3 separate regions of the Homo sapiens genome follow, and all the other regions are linked to region 1. The links are contacts of gene promoters, found by promoter capture Hi-C in blood cells and fetal thymus (Javierre and others, 2016). All regions are on one chromosome and are shown on one strand. Each heading gives the region's core, a stretch centred on a gene start or on the middle of the fragment in contact. The rest is flanking DNA. Distances are from core to core; before and after follow the strand shown. Region 1 holds the start of MYH6 (myosin heavy chain 6). Region 2 overlaps RNF212B (ring finger protein 212B). Region 3 holds the start of LOC105370406 (a long non-coding RNA gene).

Evidence for each region. Contacts are between HindIII fragments. The CHiCAGO score rates a contact against its expected background, and 5 or more counts as called.
Region 2: a fragment that was not itself captured here is called in contact with the fragment with the promoter of MYH6 in region 1 in 1 of 17 cell types (naive CD4 T cells); the score reaches 6.1 in naive CD4 T cells.
Region 3: a contact is called between a fragment that was not itself captured here and the fragment with the promoter of MYH6 in region 1, in 1 of 17 cell types (naive CD4 T cells). The highest score is 5.1, in naive CD4 T cells.

The regions. Positions count from the first base shown.
Region 1 is chr14:23,406,763-23,410,758 of GRCh38, forward strand. It overlaps MYH6 (myosin heavy chain 6), which reads right to left and starts at 1,511. Exons shown (of 39, transcript NM_002471.4): 1 at 1,491-1,511; 2 at 814-846; 3 at 261-474. The coding sequence starts at 461. RefSeq lists enhancers at 1-2,681, 364-864. The HindIII fragment of the contact is 15,953 bases long and covers 1-2,424 here.
Region 2 is chr14:23,247,040-23,251,433 of GRCh38, forward strand. All of the region lies in intron 4 of RNF212B (ring finger protein 212B), which reads left to right. Among named protein-coding and RNA genes, the nearest start is that of RNF212B, 11 kb to the left of the region's middle. The HindIII fragment of the contact is 696 bases long and covers 1,876-2,571 here.
Region 3 is chr14:23,213,304-23,217,349 of GRCh38, forward strand. It overlaps LOC105370406 (a long non-coding RNA gene), which reads right to left and starts at 789. Exons shown (of 4, transcript XR_943606.3): 1 at 695-789. It also overlaps a transcript of RNF212B not described here. The HindIII fragment of the contact is 2,562 bases long and covers 819-3,380 here.

The DNA of each region.
Region 1 (3,996 bases), core at 261-2,760:
CTCTTAGGCGAACACTGAGGTTCTTCTTCCTCAGCATCCTCTCTGGCAGGGGGAACATGGCCCTGGGTGGCACCTGTTGCACCAGCTCAGGTCAATTTGAGAGGGATCAGATTCTGGGCTCCTCAAAGGAGCATGTCCTGGCATCCCCACTGGCCTTGGCTTTTCTCCAGCCCTCTCAGCTCCCCCTGCAAGTGGCTCCACCTCTGCATCTTCTTTCCCAGACCTCCTTCCCTTCTGCCCCGGCGCCATGCCCTACTCACCTTCCCATTCTCGGTTTCAGCAATGACCTTGCCTCCCTCCCGGGACAAAATCTTGGCTTTGACAAACTCTTCCTTGTCATCGGGCACGAAGCACTCAGTGCGAATGTCAAAGGGCCGGGTCTGGGCCTCTAGACGCTCCTTCTCTGACTTGCGGAGGTACTGGGCCGCTGCCCCAAAGTCAGCCATCTGGGCATCGGTCATCTTGGTGCTTCCCCTGGGTCAGAGACAGGAGGGCTATGTTACTCCTGAGGGAGCCCAGGCTCCAGCGAGTGGCTTTGTCCTCTGCAGCCCCCCTCCCTACCCCCGCTCCTCTCCTCCACCCTGGGAGAGGCACCTGCTGTTGCACCCTCCCCTACTCAGGGCTCTGCTTCTCCTGCCCTCTGAGGTGATGCTGAAGGACAATCTCTGTAAGGGGTTTCCCTGGGGTGGCATTGGCTGGAGTATGCTAAGGGTTGGCGCTGAGTGCTTGGGACAGCAGACCCCTGGTCCAGCAATCCGGCTCCCAGGAGAAGCATGCCCCAGTCTCTGCAGAGAAAATGGGGGCAGTTCTCACCTGGTTATCCCTTCACGGAGAATCCTGAAGAATCTGGACCGTGGGTGGAGCAAGGAACAACAGAGGTAGAGCCGGGCAGAGAGAAGAACAGATGAGGAGAGTGAAGAACAACAGAGGCAGGCCACCCGGGGATGGAGGCAGCCCCAGAGCGCAGACAGGCAGGACAGACCAGGGAGTCAGAAAGGGAAAGACGCAGAGGCAGAAAAGAAAGGGCACCGAGTCAATATGAGTGCGAGGGACGGGGTGTGGAAACAGGGTTAGAAGCAGAGAGGCAGGGAGGTGAGAACACGTGCCAAGAAGGAAGGACAAGGGAGAGAGACAAAGAAGCATGATTGTGACAAGTGTCGATGAAGACCAAGAGGCAAGATAAAACCAGGATCAAGGGAAGGAAGCCATCCAAAGGAGGAAGGAAGATGGAAAGATGGAGACAACATGTAGGAGACTCAGAATGATGCAGAGAAAGAAATGGAGAGTCAGAGAAGGAGAAAAGAGGTTTCTGGGTTTCCTGTGGAACCTCCTTGTGTCAGGGGGAACTTCCCTGGGCCTGGAGATAGGCAGTTTTAATAGAGCCCTTAGGCCTCCAACTGACCTGCACCCCACTCCTGGTGAAGGAGGTCCCTCACGGTGGGGGCTCTGTGGACGGGCTGCAGGGCATCCCACCCCAAACCTCCTCTTACCTGGGCCGCAGGAGTCTCTCTATCTGTCCTCAAAGCTCCAGTTCCTTTATATCCCGTTTCCCCCACCCTCTGTCTAAATTTGGAGTCCTTCCGGAGGGACCCTCCCTCCCACCTCTCTCCCCTCCTGGCTCCTCCTCCTTTGATCCTTTGGCTCTGGAGGTGACAGGAGGACAGCAGGGCCCCCTGATTTGCCCAAGAAAGGTCTGCTGCCCCAGCCTCTCTGGCTCCACGGCCTTTTTTTAGTCCTTGGGCACATTCCTCCCCTTCAAAGGGCTGATGAGCAGATAGTGGGAAGACAGGACCTTCTCACACCGCCTCTCCCACCCTGCCATGGCCCTTACCTCAGTTATTTTTAACCCGAAGGGTGAACTGAAAACATGGGTGAGGGTCACCTTCTCCTGCAGGCCAAATGCCTGTCCTCCGCCTCCCAACCATGGGCTTTCCTCCCCTGTTCCCCAGCCTCTCCTTCCCATTCTGACCTCCCTCACACAGTCCCAGGCTGGGAGCATCTTCCTGCTGTTAGTACTGGAGCCCCCAGTGCTAGGGACTAAAAGCTGCAGTATGGTGCCCAGGGAAGGGATCTGTTGTCCATCTCCATGGCTCAGTTTTCTTTTGTCAGGAAATTCTGTCCTGGCCTCAGTCTGCATAAGTGCCATGCCTGGTCTCCTTCTGTTCCCCAAGTCTTCAGACAAGTGTTCTCCCAAGGTCTTGAGGCCACCCTGGTTTGGGGACACGTCTGGAGTCCCCACCCCTTCCCTAATGCTCCTGATAGAGTGGCCAACATCCAACCTGCTCACGCAATGGCAGTGATTCTCCCTGCCGCCTCAGGCAGATTTTCACACAGAACCCCAGTTCAGCACTCTCACATACAGACTTGACCGTGTCTGTGCCCATCTTCAGCCACACATGCAGATTTTTCACACTTACCCACTCAAGCTTGCAGATTTCTTTTCTACTTTCTTTTGTGTACATGGATGCACACATTTGCACATCCGCATTTGCACACATAGGCTTTTGCCCTCCCCTGCTACCCTCTGCTCCTGGGGTGGGGTGGGCAGAAGAAGATGGTGCTAATCCTAGGGCCTGAGAGAGGAGGGGGGTGGGTGAGGGGCTGTCCCCTTCTGCCTCACCGGGCTGCCAGAGGGTGCAGGTGCCTGGCAGGCCTGGGGATTTACACCATCTGGTCCCCAGGCACTGCATTCCATCGGGGTGGGGCTCTGCCACCTGCCCCCTCCCCAGGCAGAATTTTGTTGCCCCTTTCCAAGCCCTCCAGGGCTTATACTCACATTCCCTTCTTTGTGGGTGTCCTCAAGCACCCTAGGCCCTCAAGGCCCCGCTCCCCATCCTCCAATGCTGCCATCTCTCAGAGGCTGTAGGTGTCAGGTCTTCAGCAGGCTGTTCCTGTTATGACTAAGTGGACATTGTGTTCAGGAAACAAAGCCAGACTCCCCTGCTCTGGCCTTCCCCCCACCCTCACACCCAGGAACACCCTCCCAGCCCCCCTCCCACCAGTTTACTGTCACCTCTCAATATAGCTCCAGGGTGTGGAGGTGGGTAGGACGACAGGGGTCAGCTTCTCTGGGTAGGAGCACTTTCCATTAAGATGTGGCCTCTCCCCTAGCTCCCTAGGACGCTGCCACCCCATTCCTGGGCTCAGGAACACACCTCTCTTTCCAGAGCATTTGGACCTTTTCTCAATGTCCTTGGAGGGACCTTAGTTGACCCCACATCCCCATCTTCTGCAGGTGCTTATGCCAAATCATTACCCCCAGGGGATGCAGGCCACCTGTCCCCAGCTCTAGGTTACTCGAGGCCCCAGAATTCGAGCCGGGGGGTTAGCCCATGGCCAGTGCGTCACTGCTTGGTTCCCATAGCTCTGGGGACATGATAAGGAGCTGAGAACGCCAGGTCAGTCTGGGTCGGGGTCAGGTGACAAAGACCAGGCTTTGTCCTCAGGGAACCCTGTGCTCTGAGCAGGCCTCACTTGGTATAGGTGGTGGTGGCAGGGCAGCGGGGAGTGGAGGTGGTGGGGGGTAGTCCCCCGCTCCTGTGGAAGGAGGAGGAAGGAAGGTGTTCACTCAGCCCCAGGCCCTGCCCGTCTGCTCCGCTGTACCGTCCTCTCCCTTCCCCAGGCTCCTTCTCTCCCTGCTCTCACATATTGCTCTCCGTCCTCCCTAAGCTGCCTTGCACACAGCTCCTCATTCTGCTGGGAGTCCTGGAATATAAGGACAGGGATGGAGGCTTCGGCCACAGGTGAGGGTGCCAAGGAGGCAAGGCTGGCCTCCCTGGCACAGGTTGCCTGTCTTCTGCCTGGCTCCCCGTTGCATCTGTCTCTGTCTCACCTTCATTCCCTCTGCCTGCTTCTCCATCTCAGAGTGGGGCCTGCCTCCGATTCTCCCTGGCCCGTGTCTCCACCCGGCTCAGGGTCTAACATGAGGCTCTGCCCTCTCCGAGCTGGCCTCTTCTCTCGCCCTGGGCCTCCACATCTTGCTCCAGGCTCTTCCTC
Region 2 (4,394 bases), core at 974-3,473, 160 kb before region 1:
TGAGGCAGGAGAATCACTTGAACCTGGGAGGTGGAGACTGCGGTGAGCCAAGATCGCACCATTGCACTCCAGCCTGGGCAACACGAGCAAAACTCCATCTCAAAAAAAAAAAAAATTGTTTTCAAGGGGAAGTATAAACACCCCATCTACTTTTTTTTTTAGGTCCACTAGTTTTCATGCAATCACCTTCTTTTTTAATAACAGCTTTATTGAGATGTAATTTACATACCATAAAATTTACCCTTTTAAAGTATGCAATTCAGTGGTTTTTAATACATCCACAGAATTGTGCAAACACTACTGCCTAATTTTCAAACATTTTCATCACCCCAGAAAGAAGCTCTGTACTTATCGGCAGGCACTTCCCAAACCCTTCCCACCCTCCCCATCCCCAGGCGATCACTAATTTACTTTCTGTTGCTATGGTTTTTCCTGTTCAGGGCATTTCATAAATATGGAATCATATAATGTATGGTCTTTTGTGACTTGCTGCATTCACTAAGTATAATGCTCTCAAGTTTCATCCATGTTGTAGCATCTCTGTTAGGACTTTATTAGTATTTCATTCCATTTTATGGCCAAATAATAATCTATTATATAAATGGATATACATTTTACTTATCCATTCATTAGTCAATAGACATTTGGGTTGTTCCTACTTTGGGGCTATTATAAGTAATATTGCTATGGAACATTTATGTACAAGTTTTTACATGGACATATATTTTTATTCCTCTTGGGTATATACCTACGAGTGGAATTTCTGGGTCAAATGGTAACTCTATATTTAACTTTTTTAGGAACTGCCAGACTGTTTTCCCAAGTGGCTGTACCATTTTACATCCTTAGCAGCTCTTTTAGTCTGTCTGGGCTGCTATAATAAAATACCTTAGACTGGGCAATTTCTAAATAACAGAAATTTAATTTTAACAGTTCTGGAGGCTGGGAAGTTCAACATCAAGGCACTAACAGATTCAGTGTCGGGGGAGGGCTTACTCTTTGCTTCCAAGATAATGCCTTCTTGCTGCATCCTCACATGGCAAAAGTGGCAAACAGGCTCCTTCAAGCCTCTTTTTATTTAGTTTTTTGAGACAGGGTCTCACTCTGTCACAAAGGCTGGAGTGCAGTGGTGTGGTTGTGGCCAGTGGTGCAATCATGGCTCCCTGCAGCCTTGCCCTCTTGAGCTCAGGCGATCCTCTCACCTCACCCTCCCAGGTAGCTGGGACTACAAGCACATGTCACCACACCTGGCTAGTTTTTGTGTTTTTTTTTTTTTAATAGATACAGGGTTTTACCATGTTGCCCAGGTCTCGAACCCCTGGGCTCACGCAATCTGCCCGCCTCAGCCTCCCAAAGTGCTGCAATTACAGGCATGAGCCACCACGCCCAACCCCAAGCCTCTTTTTTTTTTTTTTTTTTTGAGACAGAGTCTTGCTCTGTCGCCCAGACTGGAGTGCAGTGGCACGATCTCGGCTCACTGCAATCTCCGCCTCCCGGGTTCAAGCAATTATCCTGCCTCCACCTCCTGAGTAGCTGGGATTACGGGCATGCGCCACCACACCTGGCTAATTTTTGTATTTTTAATAGAGATGGGGTTTCACCGTGTTGGTCAGGCTAGTCTCGAATTCCTGACCTCGTGATCCGCCCACCTCAGCCTCCCAAAGTGCTGAGATTATGGGCATGAGCCATCACGCCCGGCCCCCAAGCCTCTTTTTATAAGGACACTAATCCCATTCACAAGAGCAAAGCCTTCATGACATAATCACCTCCTAAAGCCTCCATCTCTTAATACTATTGCATTGGGAGTTGAGTGTCAACAAATGAATTTTTGTGGGACACAAATATTCAGACCACAGCAGGCCAGTAAATATTTTAAGCTTTGCAGGCCATACAATTTCCGATGCTGCTACCCAACTCTGCTGTTGTAGCATGGAAGCAGCCATAGACAGCATGTAAGCAGCCACAGACAGCATGTAAGCAAATGTGTGTAATTATGTTCCAATAAAACTTATTTACAAAAACAGACAGCTGGTTATGGTCAGTTGTTTGCTGACCCTTGGTCTATTTTATGGTTTTTAAAAGATTTTTGAAGTCATATGTTTTTACTAATATATACATACATAATTGCTACATATACTGTTGGAATAAAATCAGGTCAAGATTTGATCTCATCAATAGACCAGAGCTTCTCCATCCCTCAGCTGAATTAAGAATTTGAACAACTGAGGTACTCAGTGGGCCAGGCGCAGTGGTTCATACCACTTTGGAGGCCAAGGTGGGAGGATTGCTTGAGGCCAGGGGTTTGAGACTAGCTTGGGCAACATAGTGAAACCCCTTCACTACAAAAAATTTAAAAATTAGCTGGGCATGGTGGCACACACCTGTAGTCCAGCTACTCAGGAGGCTGAGGTGGGAGAATTGCTTGATCCCAAGAGGTTGAGGCTGCAGTGAGCCATGATTGCACCACCATACTCCAGCTTGTGTAAAAATAAAAAATTAAAAAGAGATACTCAATGGTGCTTTTGAAGAAAAGTTGTATTTAGTTTGATATTATTTTACCTAAAAAGGAAAAGCTTTCAGTATTTAGGACTTCTGAAACAGTGTAGTTGAATTCTTCATCACTACTGAGCAGGGGATTGAGGAACCTTAGGCCAGTGTGAGGTAGTATTCCTTTGATCATACAAACTGTGCAACCCAAAACATAACCCTCTGCCTGGTGGGCTGCTGTGGCTCTCATCCAGAGTGGGTACTTCAGACATCTTACTAACAATTCTCCAATTGCTTTTGCTAAGAAAGCATTTTTAGGGTTCTTTTTTCCTCAAATCTGTTCCCTCTGAACCGTCACGATAATCTATTTCAATTACAAATCTGAACAAGTAACTGCCTTTTCAAAATCCTTTGGTGGCTTCCTATCACTTAAGTTTCAGACTGCTCAGAGTGATACATAGTTACCTTAACGTTCTGGTTCCTCCTAACCTCTCCAATTTCAATCACAACTACCATCTCACCTCTCATGTACAAACACAAGTTATTACGTAAGGTTATTTATTACCTAATCTATTAGGCAGATTCAGTTCTTTGCAGTTCTTTTACAGACCATATACTTTCATACCTTTATACCTGAAATGCCTGATTTCTACACTTTAAAAACTAAGTTAGGCCAGCCGTGGTGGCTCACGCCTCTAATCCCAGCACTTTTGGAGGCTGAGGGGGTGGATCACTTGAGGTCAGGGGTTCAAGATCAGCCTGGCCAATATGGTAAAACCCTGTCTCTACTAAAAATACAAAAAATTAGCCAGGTGTCATGGTGGCGCGTGCCTGTAATGCCAGCTGCTTGGGAGGCTGAGGCATGAGAATTGCTTGAACCTGGGAGGCAGAGGTTGCAGTGAGCCTAGAATGTGCCACTGCACTCCAGCCTGGGTGACAGAGCGAGACTCTGTCTCAAAAAAAAAAAAAAAGACTGAATTAATAATTACCTCTTAATCATTATCTCTATATCTTGTAAGTACTTGTGTTCTGCGTATAACCTAGTGTTTTACTTATTAGTTCATGTGTCAGAATGTCTCTTCTACTAGACTGTGATAAGCTACTGTAAACCCGGAAAATCTGAGACAAGTCTCAGTTAATTTAGAAAGTTTATTTTGCCAAGATTGAGGACATGCGCCTCAGAAGGTTCAGACGACATGTGCCCAAGGTGGTCAGAGTACAGTTTGGTTTTATACATTTTAGGGAGACATGAGACATCAATCAACATATGTATGATGAACATTGGTTCGATCGGGAAAGGTGGGACAGCTCAAAGTGGGAAGGGGCTTCTAGGTCATAGGTAGATAAGAGACCAATGGTTGCCTTCTTTTGAGTTTCTGATTAGCCTCTCCAAAGGAGGCAATCAGATATGCATGTATCTCAGTGAGCAGAAGGGTGACTTTGAATAGAATGAAAGGCAGGTTTGCCCTGAGCATTTCCCAGCTTGGCTTTTCCCTTTAGCTTAGTGATTTGGGGGGTCCAACATATTTTCCTTTGACACTACTAAAAGACAAGAACCCATACTATTCATCTTAGCATTTCCAGTTCTTATGCCTGACGTAAAGTGTTCAGTAAAGGTTTGCTAAATGGAAAGATGAATAATATTTGCACTATATATTTTCTGCCCCTGTGTGAGATGTTTTCTGATACCAACCAGTTCTCTGACACCAACTAGGTATGCAACAATTCAATTCAATTCAATTCAATTCTAACACTAATTCCTAGAGTTTTAGTATCATACTTCACATGTTTAGGGCTCAGCCTCACAAGACTGCCCCGACTCTGGACACCAGCCACAAATGGGGTACCCAGGCTAAAATACTTCAGACTGGCCAACAACAAACTTGAGGATTCCCATGAACTTCCTC
Region 3 (4,046 bases), core at 850-3,349, 190 kb before region 1:
CTCCGTCTTAAAAAAAAAAAAAATTATAAAACGTTACTGAGAGAAATTAAAGAAGACCTAAATAAATGAAGAGATATACTTTGTTCATGAGATGGAAGACTCAATATTGTTAAGAAGTCAATTTTTCCCAATTTGATCTATAGATTCAATGCATTTCCAATAAAAATTCCACCAGGAGTCATGAGGCGGAAAGAAGAAGTATTGAGACAATTCATCCACATTCTCCTGTCCCTCTGGGTATCAGCAAATCACTGCAGAGAGCTAAACTTCCACCCCGACTCGGCAGCAAGAAGGTGGTGGGAGTCAGTGCTCAGCTTTTCCTGGAAAGGTGTCAGTGGGACCCAGTGGGGAGCTGAACATTTACCACTTTTAGGAACTGTGTGCTCTACCTAAACAGGGTGACTGCATGCCAAATGAAGAAAGAAAGAGAGAGAAGAAGTGAGGAAGAGAGGTAGAGAGAGAGAAAGAGAGGCAGAGAGAGAAAATGATTCAGCCTCACAAAATAATACTCAAAATGCTTAGTATATAATCAAAAAGCACTCATCATACAAGAACCAGGAAAATCTCAGTTTAAATGGAAAAAACCCCAACAGTCAACAGGCACTAACATTTCAGTGTTACATAGATGTTAGCCTTATCTAACAAGGATTTTAAAGGAGCCACCATAAAAAGTGCTTCAATGAATTGGGTGTACCTGTAGTCCTAGCTGCTTGAGAGGCTAGCACAGGAGGATCACTTGAGCCCAGGAGTTCGAGGTTGTAGTGTGCTGTAATGTAATCCATAGGCAACATAGTGAGACTCTGTATCTTTTTTAAAAAAGCTTCAATAAACAATTACAAAAACACTTATAAAATTTTTTTAAAGTAGAAAGTCTCAGCAAAGAAATAGAAGATACAAAGAAAAACTAAGGCTGGGCATGGCGGCTCAAGCCTGTAATCCCAGCATTTTGGGAGGCCAAGGCAGGTGGATCATTTGAGGTCAGGAGTCTGAGACCAGCCTGGCCAACATAGTGAAACCCCGTCTCTACTAAAAATACAAAAGTTAGCTGGGCATGGTGGTACATGCCTGTAATCTCAGCTACTTGGGAGGCTGAGTCAGGAGAATCGCTTGAACCCAGGAGGTGGAGGTTGCGGTGAGCCCAAATTGCGCCAATGTACTCCGGCCTGGGCAACAGAGTGAGACTCAGTCCCCCCAATAATTAAATTAAATTAAAATTTTAAAATTAAATTAATTTAATTTAAAAAAAGGACAACCAAATAGAAACCTCAGACCTGAATAATATAACCAAAAAAATGTTTAAACTTCATTGGATAGGATCAATAACAGAATGAATAAAGCATAGGAAAGTCAGTGAACTTGAAGATAAAATAATAATAATAATAATCAAAATAGAGAGAAAACGGGCATAACTAATGTCAGGACTTCAGAAATCAGATTTAACATTTGTGTCATTGTAGTCCCAGAAAAAGAGGAGAAAAAGAGGAGAAAAAATGAAAACATATTAGAAGAAATAATGGCTGAAACCTTTCCAAATCTGTTGAAAGAAATAAGGCCACAAATTCAAAAAGCTGAGTGAACTTCAAGAAGAATAAACCCAAATAAATCCATGCCAAGACATATCATAATTAACACTAATAATTTTCAGAAAAAAATAAAGACAAAGTCTTGATAGCTAGAGAGGAATGATACATTACTGATATGATTTGGCTCTGTGTCCCCACACAAATCTCATCTTGAATTGAATTGTAATTCCAATGTGTTGAGGGAGGGACCTGGTGGGAGGTGATTGGATCATGCGGGCAGTTTCCCCCATACTGTTCTCATGATGGTGAGTGAGTTCTCATGAGACATGATGGTTTAAAAGTGTTTGGCAGTTCCCCCCACCCCTCTGCCTCTCCTGTTGTCATGTAAGGTGTGCCTTGCTTCTCCTTCATTTTTTGCCATGATTGTAAGTTTCCTGAGTCCTCCCTAGCCGTGCAGAACTGTGAGTCAATTAAATCTCTTTTCTTTATAAATTTCCCAGTTCTTTATAGCAGCATCAAGACAGACTAATACAGTTTCCTATGGAGAAACAAAGATTCAAATGACAGTGTATTTCTCCTTAGAAACCATCAATTCTTAAACCCAGGAATTTGAGCTTACAATGAGACATGATTGTGTCACAGCATTCTAGCCTGGGTGACAGAGCAAGACTCTGTATCTTTAAACAAACAAACAAACACACACACAAACAAACAGAAATCATCAATGCCCAAAGAAAACTGCACAACATTCTTCAAGTGCTGAAAGAAAGGAACTGTCCATCCAGAATTCTATACCCAGCAAAAATATTCTTTAGGAATAAGGTGAACTCAAGACATTCCCAAATGAAGGAAAACTAAGAAAAGGGGTCATGAGCAGATGTACCCTAAAAGAATGGCTAATGAAAATTTTTCAAACAGAAAGGAAATGATAAACGAAAGACACATGGAACACAATTAGTGAAAAAAGAACAACAGAAAGAGTAAAAACATGGGTAAATGTTGACTATCCTTCTCCTAGTCCTTATCCATTCTTAGTGAGTTATCTAATTATGTTTCATATTGAATTACATTGACACCACTAGACTGAGTTATTTTATGCATGTATAATGTAATCTCTAGAGCAACCATTAAAACATTTGCCGGGTGTGGTGGCTCATGCCTGTAATCCCAGCACTTTGGGAGGCCAAGGCGGGCGGATCACGAGATCAGGAGATCGAGACCATCCTGGCTAACACGGTGAAACCCCCATCTCTACTAAAAATAAAAAAAATTAGCTGAGTGTGGTGGCGGGTGCCTGTAGTCCCAGCTACTCTGGAGGCTGAGGCAGGAGAATGGCGTGAACCTGGGAGGCGGAGCTTGCAGTGAGTCAAGATCGTGCCACTGCACTCCAGCCTGGGTGACAGAGCGAGACTCCATTTCAAAAAAACAAAAACAAAACAAAACAAAACAAAATCTATACAAGATGATACATTCCAAAACATTATAAATAAATAAAAATGCAATTCTAAACAATGTTCAAGTAACCTACAAAAAAGCAAAAAGAAGTGAAACAGAGGAATAAAAAAACAGAGGAACATACAGAAAACAAAGAATCAAATAGCATACTTAATCCCTAACATATCAATAAGTACATTAAATTTAAATGGTTTAACTGTATCAATCAAAAGATAGACGTCGACAGAACAGATTAAAAAACAAACATGACCGAGCACAATTTCCAAACAAATAAATTATGCTAAGTAAAAAAAAAAAAAAATAATAAGGCCAATCTGGCTGGGTGTGGTGGCTCACGCCTGTAATCCCAGCACTTTGGGAGGCCAAGGTAGGCAGATTGCTTGAGCTTAGGAGTTCAAGACAAGCTTGGGCAACATGGTGAAACCCCATCTCTACCAAAAATCCAAAACTTAGCTGGATGTGGTGGCATGCATCTGTGGTCTCAGCTACTTGGGAAGCTGAGGTGGAAAGATTGCTCAAGCCTGGGGAACAGAGGTTGCAGTGAGCTGAGATTGCCCTACTGCATCCTAGTGTGGGTGACTGAATGTGACCCTGTCTCAAAAAAAAAAAAAAAAAAAAAAAAAGACCAATCTCAAAGGTTACAGATTGTATGATTCCACTTATACAACATTTTAAATGATAAAATTATAGAACTGGAGAGCAGATTAGTGACTGACAGATGTTAAGAATGGGGACAGGCACAGAAGGGTAAAGCAACAAGAAGGTTCCCGGGGTCCCTGAGTCCAGGCCTAGGCTCTTGGACAGCATTTCTGAACCTGCTATGGACCAGAGTGGAGCCCCCTGCCCTGAAGGGTGAGTCTTAGGCCTGGCAGAATTCACCACAAGCTGACAGAGAAGCTCCTGGGTTTTAAGTTAACATCAGCAGTGGCCTGGCAGAACCACCATAGACCAGTGGTGGCAGTGGTGGCAGTGGTGGGGGGGGGGCTCCTCTGCCTGTGGAAAGGGGAGGGAAGAGCGGGAAGAACTTTATATTGTGGTGTGAGTGCCAGCTTAGCTGCACTAGGACAT